2 separate regions of the Homo sapiens genome follow, and region 1 is linked to region 2. Evidence: promoter capture Hi-C in human tissues and cell types (Jung and others, 2019). All regions are on one chromosome and are shown on one strand. The core of a region is centred on a gene start or on the middle of the fragment in contact, and the rest is flanking DNA. Distances in the headings are between cores, read along the strand shown. Region 1 overlaps MIPEP (mitochondrial intermediate peptidase). Region 2 holds the start of SACS (sacsin molecular chaperone).

Region 1 (6,765 bases), core at 943-3,442, 390 kb after region 2:
TAACAATTCGCTAAAGTGTTACTGATCTCTTCTTACCCCTTTGTACGGCAGTCAACCTTTCCACCCATGATCTGCCACAGGTGAGCCATCTGTATCTCTCTGGATTCAGACACCTCGAGGGCCCTGAGACCTCAGCTTCCCTATGAGCTTGAGAAAAGTTAGCATTCTACCTGCCTTTTCCTGTAGGAAGGTTGGTTGCCAGCACTGCTCTTTCGAGCTTTCTGCATCCTAGGTGGATGGGCAAATCCCAAACAGTTCAGACTTTCATTAAGTAATATCATTTGGGCTTAGCCTCCAAAGGAGAAAAATCAAACCAAACCAAACCAAACACAAAGGCAGAAAAGCTTTACAAAGGGTGAACTATGCTTTTAAGTCAGGAATTACACACCATCAGAGACTATCATGAAGAAACTTGTAAAGCTTTGGCACGTATGACAGACAGCATAGCTGAGCACTGTCTCAAGCAGTTTGGTCAGTCGAGTGAGAATCCCCCTTTCCTCACCTTAGTAATTTTTTATCCTCCAACTCCCTCCACTCCCTCATTCCTTGGCTATAAATCTCCACTTTTCCTTGTTGAATATGGAGTTGAGCAGAATCTCTCCCCCACTACCAAACCTCACTGCAGTAGCCCCCCGATAAAGTCTGCCTTACTGTTCTTTAATAACTTTCATGAATAATTTTTCCTGTAACAAGAACAATAAAACATCATCCTTTGCCCTCAAAAGCATTAAAATTCCGATACCTGCATCACAAGAAGGTGGAGTCTGTGAGGCATGCTGCAGGTGTGTAACGTCGGGCTTGTTGATTCAATTTGTTTGTGTACCCCTCAAAATTCGATCCTGTGATTCAGGTATGCTGCCCCTTGATGGCAAAGGCACTTCCATCCAAAATTTGTTTTACTGATACTTCAACAAGTTCCCCCACAAAAGGATCAGTAAACATTCAGTGTTTACTGAATGAACACTTAATAACTCAATAAAACATTCAGTGAATATAATTTATATATTTAATACACAATTAGCATACAATTGATAGATGAGGAAGTTAGATAAGGAAAAATGAAAGCAGAAAAATAAAATGAGGTCAGAATTGAGGTTAGGCACATTAAAACATGTTTCCTGTAACTCCGTGTCATTGTCACAGTTGGGCCATACACTTAGTTCTGGGTTTTGCAGTGAGCTAAGCAGCGTTAAAAGAAAAACTTTGGACAAATTAAATTTAACAGAGTTTGGCTAGGCACGTTGGTTCACTCCTGTAATCCCAGCACTTTGGAAGGCTGAGGCAAGCTGATCACTTGAGGTCAAGGGTTCGAGGCCAGTCTGGCCAACATGGTGAAACCCTGTATCTACTTAAAAAAAAAAAAAAATTAGCTGGGCCTGGTGGCGGGTGCCTGTAATCCCAGCTACTCAGGAGGCTGAGGCATGAGAATCGCTGGAACGCGAATGCGGGAGGTAGAGGATGCAGTGTGACAAGATCGCACCACTGCACTCCAGCCTGGGTGACAGAGCGAGACTCTGTCTCAAAAATTAATAAAAATAAATAAATGAATAAATAAATAAATAAACTTAACAGAGTTAAACAGAGCAAAGGACACCTTAAAAATTGGGCAGTCCCTGGAACCAGAATAGGTTCAGAGAGACTCAGGAACTGCCATATAGTCTGATAATATTTATGGACAGAAAAAGGAAAATGACCTACAGAAAACAGATGTGAGGTACAGAAATAGCTGGGTTGGTTACAGTTCACATTTGCCTTATTTGAACAAGGTTTGAACAGCCTGTGATTGGCTGAAACTCTGTGATTGGTACAAGGGTAGGTTACAGGCTGTTTATACCTCTAGTAAGGTTAGAGTTCATTATGTATGGAGAAATCTTTAAGCCTAATTTAAAATATGTAAGGCAGCTTTAGGCTAAATGTAACAGCGGAGAGGGAAATTCAATGATGTGCCTCATTCTAATTTCTGTGAGTAGTGGTCTAGATCCCTTACCTGAAATTCCATAATCCGTTAAGGTCTGAAGACTGGAAAGTTTTCATAAATTTGACCAAAAAAAACATTAGATGGCAAGACCTGACCTGGACAAATGTGAAGTTTGTAAAGTATTTATCTTTTAAAAATATTTACCCTTACACTTCGTGAATATGCAGAAATATGAATGTGTTTCACTACTGGGTACTCTACCAGAACTAGCTAGGTTTATTCATTTCTTTTAATTCAACATCCACAGTATAAGGTTAAACAAAAATTATGGGAGGCCATTGTTTTATACTGAGCTCCTACACTGGGCCCCAGTAGACAAAACCAAACCAAATGGAGTCACTCATGCTAAATGCCACACAATCAAACCAAAGTTTTAGAGAAGCAGGTAGATCCCATACAGTCCGGTGTTTCCTGAAAATAGGAGATCGCAGTCTACCTGAGTCAGTGTCATATGGAAGCTCCCTTTGCTTTAACGCTTACAAAAGAGGAACCTGATGCTAATCAATCGGCTTTTTTTTCTGGTGTTCTGTTTCCTTGTTCCCACCTTATAAAGCCCACTCTTCTGCTATTGCCCAGGGGTAGCTTTCATTCTACTTTGTAGAATAGAGGCTGCCTAATTCATGAATCACATATAAAAGTCAAACGGATCTATAACCAAATTTGTTGCAATTTTTTCTTCTCATAAACCATATTAATTTTCTAAAAATCCAGAAAATTCTGAATTCCAAAACATCTAATCCCGAAGTTTTAGATAGAGAACTATAAATCTCTATGTGTTATATACATTTGGTCTGAAATACAGCGTAAATTCTCCACTTTTTATTAAAAAAAAAAATAGAAAAAAAGCCGGACACGGTGGCTCATGCCTGTGATCCCAGCACTTTGGGAGGCCAAGGCCAGTGGATCACCTGAAGTCAGGAGTTCAAGACCAGCCTGGCCAACATGGTGAAACCCCATCTCTACTAGAAATACAAAAATTAGCCAGGTGTGGTGGCATGTACCTGTAATCCCAGCTACTTGGGAGGCTGAGGGAGGAGAATTGCTTGAACCTAGGAGGCAGAGGTTGCAGTGAGCTGAGATTGCATCCTTGCACTCCAGCCTGGGTGACAAGAGGGAGACTCCATCTCAATAAAAAAAAAAAAGGAAAAAAACCTCTTTTCATTCCAAGTGTTCTACACACAGTATATTGTACATGTCTCCCCAATGAGGTTTACAGATGTGTCATTTAAAAAATGGGTTAAGTGTGAGAAACTCTTCGAGCACTCTTAATTTTGTATCTATAGAATCCAGTTGAGTGAAGTTACTTGGCCTTCCCTTGATGTTGTCCAACTCTCGTGCTTGTGTTGACTGAACAGAGGCCCTGCCTGTGGTAGAAGAGCCAACAATAAAAGCAGGTCAGATTGTCTAGGAAATTCACTCAAGTAAACACCTTTCTTGGGGATTCCAGTTATTAGCATATTAAATTATACGTAGTCCTACCTTTATAGAAACCCATTTAATGCTACACCCATTTTCCAAAATTATTTGAGCACAGAACACCTGCTCCCTCCACCCCATACATCTTTTATAATCAGGTGATTTAATATGTACAACACTAGTTGGAAAATGACTTGGTAAAGCAATTAAATGTAACTTTCACTAATAAAAGAAAGAATTCTTATAAATAAAACATCGTAAAGAAATAAAGGAATAAATACAGCTGTTATTCTGGCTATCTTACAGCTTCTTTCCAGTCTTATATTTACACCCACTTTATTAGAAAGCTTCTCTTCAGCTCTTCTCCATCGCACCTGGCTCTGCCTCTCCCAGGCCAGCACAGCCCCCAGACATTCTGGGAACTTGCCTGCAGGGTGTCCTGCCGCTCTGGTGCCTGAGCCAGTTCCAATGCCCCATCAGAGTGTGCATTTCTAAGGAATGAAAGTTGATGGAGCTCATGAAAGCACACTAATTTGCCTTTCCTTATGGCCAGGGAACAAATGGATAGAGCACAGAAGGTGCTGTATGTTCTGGTCTCCTCAATGCATTAGCAGATCCACAAAACTCATTCTGATTTCTCTGCTCCAAAACAGAAGAAAAATAGCCAGCATCCAACACTGCCTCCATACTGAAAAACGCCAAATAATACCAACTGCAAGCTCCACATTTCCCTCCTGCAACATTTTCTTTTTCCACAGTGAAGAGGGAGATTCCCACTCTGTTATTTTTTCAGATATCACCTATCAACTATTATTTTTATGGAGGCATTTTATTGAAATACAATAGTAAATCTAGTTATACCCTCAGTAAAGCTTTGCAATCTGCAACCTTTACAAACTATCTTACTATAGAGTTGTTCAGAAACAGTTTTCTATAAAATCTGTATCCCTTAACAAGGGCAGACTATTTTAAACATGGATTGAGAATTTATGTTAATGTGAATTTATTTCAAAGCAATTTTTACTGAGTGAACTTTATACTTCAGATAATTTATGCCCCTTCCTAGTTTCTTTCATAAAAATATCTGCAGATTTTTTTTTGTCACTATAGAATCCCACCAAGTCCAAATGAGCCCTGGTTTGAAGCTGGCTGCCTCCTGTGCTTACGAAATGGGCTGTAAGAGAAGACAGAGCAAGAAAAGCAGGTGAGACCTGTCACAAGACTCTCTGGGCTCATCTTCACCGAGCATCCCACCCTGTGCAAGGCATCCTACTAAGCAGCTGGGTAATACACAATGAATCTCACCTGATCCTGCTACCTGGAACCAGAAAAGGAATGTACAACCTGCAGTATCTGAGGGGGGTTGGTTCCAGGACCTTCCTCCAAGAACAAAATCCATACATGTTCAAGTCCCTGGTATAAAATAGTATAGTATTTGCAGATAACCTAGATGCATATCCTCTTATATACTTTAAATCATGTCTAGACTACTTGTAATACCTAATACAAAGTAGCTATGTAAATAGTTGTTACACTGTACTGCTTTTTTACTTGCATTTTAATAATTGTGTTGTTATTATTACTATTTTTTCCAAGTATTTTTGACCCATGGTTAGTTGACTGTGTGGACACAGAAGGGCCAAATGTATTTCAGGATTCATAAAGCATGGGAAAATGCACCAAGAGCCACAAAAGAGGTGCAGATAAAGCAATAAAGGAATTTAGAAGAGAGTAATCATTCACAGTGTTGGAAAAGCAATTACCCTAACAATAAATGGTGCCATTTGTACTACCGTAACAGTGGTATTTCAAAAGCAGAGATCAAACATCGTGGGTGGTTTTTTAAAATAGGAAAATGGTAGAAATGTTGTTTCTACTATTGGAATATAATATGCCAGTAATTAACTACAGTGACCTAATGTGCTTACTGTAATAATCCAACCTGAATTTTTCCACAATTACCACTGTATTTAAAACAGTAATTTCTGTGTTTATTTTTAAAAACTCAAGATTTGACTATATGACTATAACAAGACAATGCAGCCTGTCTAATATGCTAAAGTTGCCTATAAACTAAAAAGAACTGACTTAAAAGCCCTGGAGTGGTTGCCTCACATTGCCCCACCCCGCAAGGCTGTACTACGGTTGGGTAACCAAATGCTCCTATTTCAAGCATTTAGCTAATTGATTCATCCTATCCCGATGATGCATTCAATGACTTAAACTTAGATTTCTAGAGCCCCAACTAGACTGTGAGACACAATCAGCCATTGCTGTGTGAAAGGTCCCCTTAAAGGACACTAGGGAGTGGGGGCCCCACCCTCTTTGTGTACCCAAACACACAGCTGTGCAAGAGAGGACTCCCAGTGCTCATTTATTCTATTGTTTGTTAATGCCAGAACACATTTACAGCCAGAAAGGGAAAATGAAAGACTATAAAACTGACCTCCTTCTTATATTAAGAAGGTAAAAATCTGTGTCTTGCTCAGAATTGCAACTTTTTTTTTTTTTCCTAAATATGGATTGTAAGAACAGTAATTACCCAACTATGTGAAGTCCAAAGCAAGTAGAGACCAGCAGCATCTGGGCGCTTCTTTTTTTTTTTGAGACAGAGTCTTGCTCTGTTACCCAGGCTGGAGTGCAGTGGCATGATCTCGGCTCACTGCAACCTCCGCTGGGCGCTTCCTGGAAATACAGAATCCTGAACCCACTTCACATCCATTAAATCAGAATCTGCATTTTATCCAGATCCCCAGGTGATTGTGTGTTGAAGTTTTAGATACCTGACTTAGAAAAAGAAACAGTCATTACAATGACTTGAAAAACAAAGATGAGCAAACTTAAATTGTTCTAATTTTACAAGCAGAAAAATGGTCCGTAAGGAGGAGCACTGTGTGAAAGACGAAGGCTTGGGTGTGAGTTAGGCATCCTGCTGTTGCTACTCTTTTGCCTCTTAGCCTAACAAAATCTCAGAGTATCCTATTTTCTCATTTGTAAAATGAGGATAAAAATACCTCTGCCACAAAATTAGTATGAAGGTTCAATAAGGTGACAATTAGTTAATGAACTTCTAAAATGTATTAACTGAATAGAAGAAATTCAGGTCCCTGCATCTGAAACATCTGACTTTCTCAATGCTGTCACAGCTTGGGTGACCACACATGGAGGTGGGCATGACAGTCCTACGTTATGACTGCCATCTTGGTGTGATCAATAATAGCACTCCTTTCTTTCTTAACAGCATTTGGAGCTGGGCACGGTGGCTCACGCCTATAATCCCTGCATTTTGGAGGGCCAAAGCTGGAGGACTGCTTGAGGCTGAATGTTCGAGAACAGGCTGGGCAACAGAACGAGACACCATCTCTACAAAA
Region 2 (7,161 bases), core at 2,419-4,918:
TCCGTCTCTACTAAAAATACAAAAATTAGCCGGACGTGGTAGCAGTCACTTGTAATCCCAGCCACTCGAGAGGCTGAGGCAGGAGAATCACTGGAACCCGGGAAGTGGAGGTTGCAGTGAGCCGAGATTGCACCACTGGCCTCCAGCCTGGGTGACAGAGTTAGACAACATCTCAAAAAAAAAAAATTAATAAATAAAACTAAAGGAATATTTGGTGTAATTGACAAAAAACTCATAAAGATTGGTTGTAATTTATGTTTGAAGCTTAAAGACCTAACAAACTAATATCCTTAAGCTCTAAGTAACTATCATTGATCAAGTAAAGCTCTGTTTATATCATATTGCCAAATTTAGCAAATAAAAATTATAAATATAAACATATACACCTTAAGTTTGAGTTTCAGATAAACCACGAATTATTTTTTAGTATGTTTATGTCTTATGCAATATTTTTTGTATTTAATCTTGTAATCCTATCAGGGTTTTTAAATGGTGAAATTTATCATTGCATTAAAAACAAGGAAAAAGGCTAAAGTAGTACTATGTGAAAATGTGCACAAATTCTAGATACGTATAGAATTCAAATACTCCTTTCTAGCACTTAGTACTTTAATGAGGTAAGGATTTAAATGATCACCAATAATTATATTAGGATGGCTTTGATTTATTTTTAAATGTCATTTCAGAACACATTAAAAGGCTATGTGGACTGTAGAGCCCTTATTTTCTGCCCCAGATGACAAACTCATGGTGTAATCTCGAGCAGAATATTTAAAACAAATGTTTGTCTGGATGTAAGGTTATTATAATTGGACCACAGATCTCTCCTGACAAAACCCAGAACCAACGTGTCACCTTGGGTTTCACATCGTCGTCAATTTGAAGTGCCTTGAGGGGGATACCATGGTAGGAACAGAGCTCAGAGTTCAGTCTGAGAACTCAGTGATGCTCCCCAAGGGAATCGAGTCTTACCATCTAGTCAGTCTCTCCTTTTACTAATAAGAAATACTTGGGGTTCTACTCTCTCTTAAGGTTGCATTTTGTAATCTGCAAAATGGGGCTGCCTGTTTCATAAGGCTATTGTAAGAATCAATGAGATAAAAGCATTTAATTTGATCAAATAATTGTTGTAAACTGAGGCTACCCCAAAGAGAGCTATCTGAATCATCTAGTCAGAACCTGAAGGAAATTGAAAGATTATTCTATGTCTCTTGCCTTAGAGATGGCGTTAAAAGGCTTTCTAATTAGCACAAAGAGAAGTCAAAGCAGGGCTGGAGCCACACCCTTTGGTCCCCAATCCAGTGCTTTTCCCAACTTCGCTATGTTCCCCCTTAGGTAGGGGTGAAACGGCCTCTCCTAGACGTTAAAATCTTACACAATATCCTGAGTGTGAGTTAAGGAAAGGAAAGACGGCAGGAGAAAGACACATAAAGTAGAAATTAAAATAGTAACAGGATTGTCATTGCAAAGAGCAAATTGCCACCCAGGCTGTCCAAGATCAGAATAGCAATGGGAATTGTCCTGACTTCCAATTTGGCATCCTCTGCATCAATCACATTTAGTAGTCCTCATGTAGGCTCATGGTGGGAGTGGTCAATATCATCATCACTGCTGCTGTCTTAAAGGATTTAGGAAGAGTTGTACAAAGAGAATCGGCCTTCCTTCTTCCAAAGAATACTCCTATGGCAACATGGAAACATCAGCGTTCCTTTTATAGACAAGAGGGCTTAGAACAGTGTTTCGTGCATAGCAAGAACTGAATATGTATTTTGTACTGATCAGGACTCATTCAGATGCACTCAGCCAAAAGTTCATTTCAAAATTTATTCCTTTTGGGAAATGGTGCATGAACCACTTTAGCATGCTTCACCATGGTGGTTAGGTAGATGGTGGACTGAGTGAGAAAACGACAAAACTCTTACTAAATAGTGACACTGTGTGAAGAACCCTGCTAGGCGCCTTCATACAAATCACCTGGTTTCAACCCTGTGACCATTAAGTGAATAATTGTGTCATCTCTGACACAGGAGGGAACTGAGGCTCACAGAAGTTATGTGGATTGTCAGGGGCTGCAGAGTAAGGATGTGGTAGACCTGAGATTGGAACCCGGGGCTTCTGGGGGCAAGTCCTGCGTAAAGCAATGGTTTTGAGATGCTTCAGATGTAAGCAAACCTTGGTCTTCAAGTTCTATAATTGGACTTTTCTTCCTATTATGTGAAGAATAGAAAACACTTAATCGTGGAAAAGTTCTTATAAACCAAGTAAGATTAAAGGAAAATAGGGTATGTAGAAAATCTGGCTTGCTTTGTTTGAAAGGGAGACTGAAGGAGTCTTTAAGATCCAAGGAGAAAAGAAAGAAAAAATTGCCCAAACAGCCCAGGAAGGAGAAGAAAGGATGAAAGGGACGGCTAAGGAGGATAGAGGAAAGGAAACTGGGGATCGTTGTCACAGCCCAAAGTGAGGCTTCAGGGCAAGATTAGGGAAGGCAGTCTGGATGGTCATAAGTAAAACTACTGGGACATCATGACCCTGCATTAACGTAGAATGAGTCTGGTTATCAATGGGCAGCTTAAGAAAAACAGAATGGCAAATCTACTTGTCATGTGACAAATAAAATGGGATTGTCAATTATTTATTATTATTATTATTATTTTCATCCATGACCTGTGAATCAATTACTTTTATCTGCACTGATGGAGAAATGAAGAGTTCCCCTTCAAAATAACTTCAGAGCAGCTTGCGCTTGGGAAGCACGTGGATTCAACCTGGCTTCTGCCTTTTACTTAAGCGGAATGGGCTTTATCCATCTTCAGGGGCAGAGAGAATTAAGATTAAAGCCAAAACAATTGATATGTTTTAATAGAAACAAATCCAGTCCTCTTCTCTGAGGTATTGACCTCGTTTTAAGGAAGAAAAAAAGACAGCGAGAGAGAGGTTTTGTTGCTAAAGCTGGAATACTCTTTCAAAGAATCTAATGATCGCTTATTAGAATAAAATTAAATATGTGAAATATTTTTTAACTAAAAGCAGGATTTTCAAATATTATATAAGATAACCATAACATATGGCATTGTTTGAAGGCATGCTGTTTAAAGTGAGAGCAATTCTGCAAATTAACCGTAAGCTACTTTGAGAATCCCATCTTATTGTTCAATAAGACTCTGGACCCCACGCTGTGTTACTGCAACAGCTCCATTGTGGCGGTGCCTGGCAACCCGGGTGGAAATTAAAATGACAAAGCGGCTAGTCCAGCATCTTGACCGCGGCAGATCTCTCTAGTCACCCTGCAGCCGCTCCTCACCCACAAATTCACAAGCAGCCAACCCAAACTGTACATTTTCAGAAGAGCTCATTACTCACAGCTGTACAGCACGCTGAAGGCCCTCTCGTCTCTGTCCTCTCCGAAGGCGGGTATGTTAAAGGAAAGTGGCCCCTTACCTCCCCCAAGCAGCTGCAGTGGCCGAGCCCTGGTTTCCCAAGGCTCAGGGGACGGATGGCCAACAACACCATGGAGCCTGCCCGTCCCCAGGCCGCTCCTGCAGCTGCCCTCGCTGGCCACCCAGCTGGAACCTTGGACTTACTGGGGGCTGTGGGCATCAGGGTCTCTCGGCCTTTGTTTTCCTCCAGTGCCATCAGCAGTTCCCAGCGTGACTGTCCCGCAGCCGCACTGGGTCCAGGCGGCTCCTGCCGCAGTCAGTCGCTCCCCCTACCCAGCAGCCTTTTTTTTTCTTCTTAAAGAGACAGGACTGTCATCAACCTTAGGTGTCAATAATGCTGCAAGTGCAGCATTGTCGTTCATTGTGGGGGTGACAACCAACCACACGTTTTTGTTCTCTTCACTTGCAAAGGCTAATTTTTAGCAGTAGGTATGGCTAACAGAAGACTGGCTCTATTAAACACCAGTTGTGTGACCTTAGACAAGTCACTCATGGGTCTCGAGTACCTCATGGGAAATGAAGACCTGTGACCTGGTAATGTTGTAGCTCACAATCTGCTTTTTGTATGTTATTTGGAGTTGTTTATGAGGTTCCAATGGTTAAAAAAAAAAGCATTCACTCAAAATGTGTGGTAAACTGTGAAATGCTATACAATTGATCCTGTTCTAAGTTGAAATTGCTAGTCTCAATTTAATAATACAAAATATTGTAACTCTATTTTCTTGCTTCCTCTGATGGGGTATGTGAAATACCACCAGCATTTATTTCATTTCGGCGCACAGCTATCCTGCCACTGGCCTGGGTACATCATATTCCTCATGATAGTCTCCTAGTAGAACTGCCTGCTTTATCCATATAAATCTAGAATTTTGGCTTATCTGGAAATACTGGATCTCGGAAGCTTCTTATTGCTTCGTTCCTGCGGAAAATTCCTCTTAAGTCAGTTCAAACAACTCCAGACCTGAAAAGGCTCAAATGATCTCTCCTGGGAGAAGACCAAAGCAAGCCCCAAATGTCAGCAGCAACTGGGGAAGGAGAGCCCCTGCTTCTTGTACCTGGCCCTGCACTGGTCTGACCCAGAAGATGCCACATCTAATGGTGTCTCCTTCACATCCTAGACTCACAGATTTGTGTACATATTATTTCCTGGGAGATAGGTGGGAGACCTGTTCTAACAAAAGGACTGAATAATCACAAACAAAGCACATTTCTATTGGGGAGAAATGGTGTCTTGCAGGGCCTTTTCATTGAGCTCTCACTGTAGCACCGTGTGGACCAACAGGCCCTCGGTGGCATGCGCCTGTGGAGTGAGGCTGCCTCTCTGAGGCTACCACCATTCTTACATGGTTCAGTTGTAATCAGTTTAATTCAGCACACAAATATTGAGCCCTTGCTTGTTCCTGGCATCAGCTAGACACCGTAGACTAAACGGTGAATACCCAGTATGTTGCTCCCCCAGCAGGCTCTTCTACTCACAGCTGTAAACCATTACACCCCCAAAGGGAAAAGTTATAAATAACTACATATATATAAACTATATATATAATATATATGTATAGTTTTCAGAGAGGTTAGACGATTTTGCCTACCTACTCACACTACATAAAAGTATCCAGTGAAATATTGATTATTCAGAAATAGTGTTGCTTAGCCAGGTGTGGTGGTACATGCCTGTAGTCCTAGCAACTCAGGAGGCTGAGGAAGGAGGATTGCTTGAGGCCGGGAGTTTGAGACCAGCCTGAGCAACATAGCAAGACCTCAGGTTGGGCGCAATGGCTCACGCCTGTAATCCCAACACTTTGGGAGGCCGAGGTGGGTGGATCACTTGAGGCCAGGAGTTCAAGACCAGCCTGGCCAACATGATGAAACCCCATCTCTACTAAAAATACAAAAATTAGCTGGGTGCAGTGGTGTGCACCTGTAATCTCAGATACTTGGAGGCTAAGGCAGGAGAATTGCTTGCACCTGGGAGGCAGAGGTTGCAGTGAGCTGAGATTGTGCCACTGCACTCCAACCTAAACAACAGAGTGAGACCCTGTCCCAAAAAAACAAAAACAAACATAGCAAGACTTCATCTCTACAAAAATTAAAAAATTAAGCAGGCATTGGTCGTGCATGCCTGCAGTCCTAGCTACTCGGGAGACTGAGGTGGGAGGATCACTTGAGCCCAGGAGTTTAAGGTTACAGTGAGCTATGATTGCACCACTGCACACCAGCCTGGGCGACAGAGTAGACCTCATCTCTAAAATTAAAAAAAAAAAAGACAAAAAATAGTGTTGCAATGTAGAAGTCAAAGCTTAAATACCCTTGTGAGCACTGCCTGTGATACACCTTGTTACTGTTACAACAAATTGCATGTGTTTATATGTGACTTTCTACACATTTGGAAGGTGATTTCATGTGCATTGCAAGCCCTTCACTATGCCACTGTCCAGATACAATGGCACATGAAATAAACCATATGAGTTCATTTACACTTATGGTGCCATTTATGCTATTGGAATGTTGTTGTCAAAAGATTTAGACTTTGTCCTAAAAATTTAAGAAAGCAAAGATTTCTGGATAATTCATGAACCACAGATCTTCCACATTCTGGGCAAAGATTGACCGTTAACATACCCAAGTCAGAGGTCAATCTGTCTGTGATGGTTAATTTTAGGTGTCAACTTGACTGGGCTAAGGAATACCCAGATAGCTGGTAAAGCATCCTCTCTGGGTGTGTCTGTGAGGGTGTCTGCCAAAGAGACTAGCGTTTGAATTACTAGACTGGGTAAAGAAGCTCTGCTGTCACCCATGTAGACGGACATCATCCCACATGAGGGCCCAGATAGAGAACCAAAAGTCAGAGGAAGAACAAATTCTCTCCCTCTCTCTCCTTGAGCTGGTACATCCCATCTTCTCCTACCTTGGACATCAGAGGTCCTGGTTCTCAGATCTTCAGACTCCAGGACTTACACCAGCACCCCACCTCATTCTCAGGCCTTTGGCCTTCTACTAGGATTTACACCATCAGCTCGCCTGGTTCTCAGGCAGTCAGACTCAGACTGAATCACACCAACAGCTTTCCTTGTTCTCCAGCTTGCAGATGGCAGATCAGGAGACTTACTGGCTTCCACAAGCACATGAGCCAATTTCCATAATAAATCCCTTCTTACATATCTATAAATATCTTTAGTTCTGTTTCTCTGGAGAACCCTAAGTCAATGTCTCCACCTTACCCTAAGCTGAGCCTAGAACATGAGAAAATATGACCTGGTGCCACGGCTGTCCAGAACCACAAAAGTGCAGCTAGAGGATGAGTCTCTGCCACTTGTCCAGAGGTTTCAAAGAGCTGCTGCAATATGCTGACTCCTTCCCCTGGATCCTCCCAGCTGCTGCTCCTACCGTGCCAGTCTTTCGTTCCAGCCATATCACGTGGCCAAAGCTCTGCTCACATGTGGCCTGGAGACCACATGGTTTTCTTGGCCTCTTCCTCAATCTGTATGAGGGTCAGATTTTATCAACTCAGAAAGGTTAGCAGCTCAACCTGAATGATACAAGCTAAGTCTCGGCATCTAGTCATAGTTTTGGAGTCTTAGCTTCTGTATCTGTGATGGTTAATATTGAGTGTCAACTTGATTGGATTGAAGGCTGCAAAGTATTGTTCCTGGGTGTGTCTGTGAGGGTGTTGCCAAAGGAGATTAACATTTTAGTCAGTGGCAGAGGCAGATCCACCGTCAATCTG

What was found. Contacts are between HindIII fragments. The study calls those that stand out against the background at their distance.
Region 1: a fragment that was not itself captured here is called in contact with the fragment with the promoter of SACS in region 2 in 1 of the 25 tissues and cell types used here (dorsolateral prefrontal cortex).

What each region holds. Positions count from the first base shown.
Region 1 is chr13:23,816,905-23,823,669 of GRCh38, forward strand. All of the region lies in intron 14 of MIPEP (mitochondrial intermediate peptidase), which reads right to left. Among named protein-coding and RNA genes, the nearest start is that of PCOTH, 69 kb to the right of the region's middle. The HindIII fragment of the contact is 3,621 bases long and covers 383-4,003 here.
Region 2 is chr13:23,430,034-23,437,194 of GRCh38, forward strand. SACS (sacsin molecular chaperone) reads right to left here and starts at 3,669. Exons shown (of 10, transcript NM_014363.6): 1 at 3,582-3,669. RefSeq lists an enhancer at 2,921-3,488. The HindIII fragment of the contact is 7,525 bases long and covers 1-5,035 here.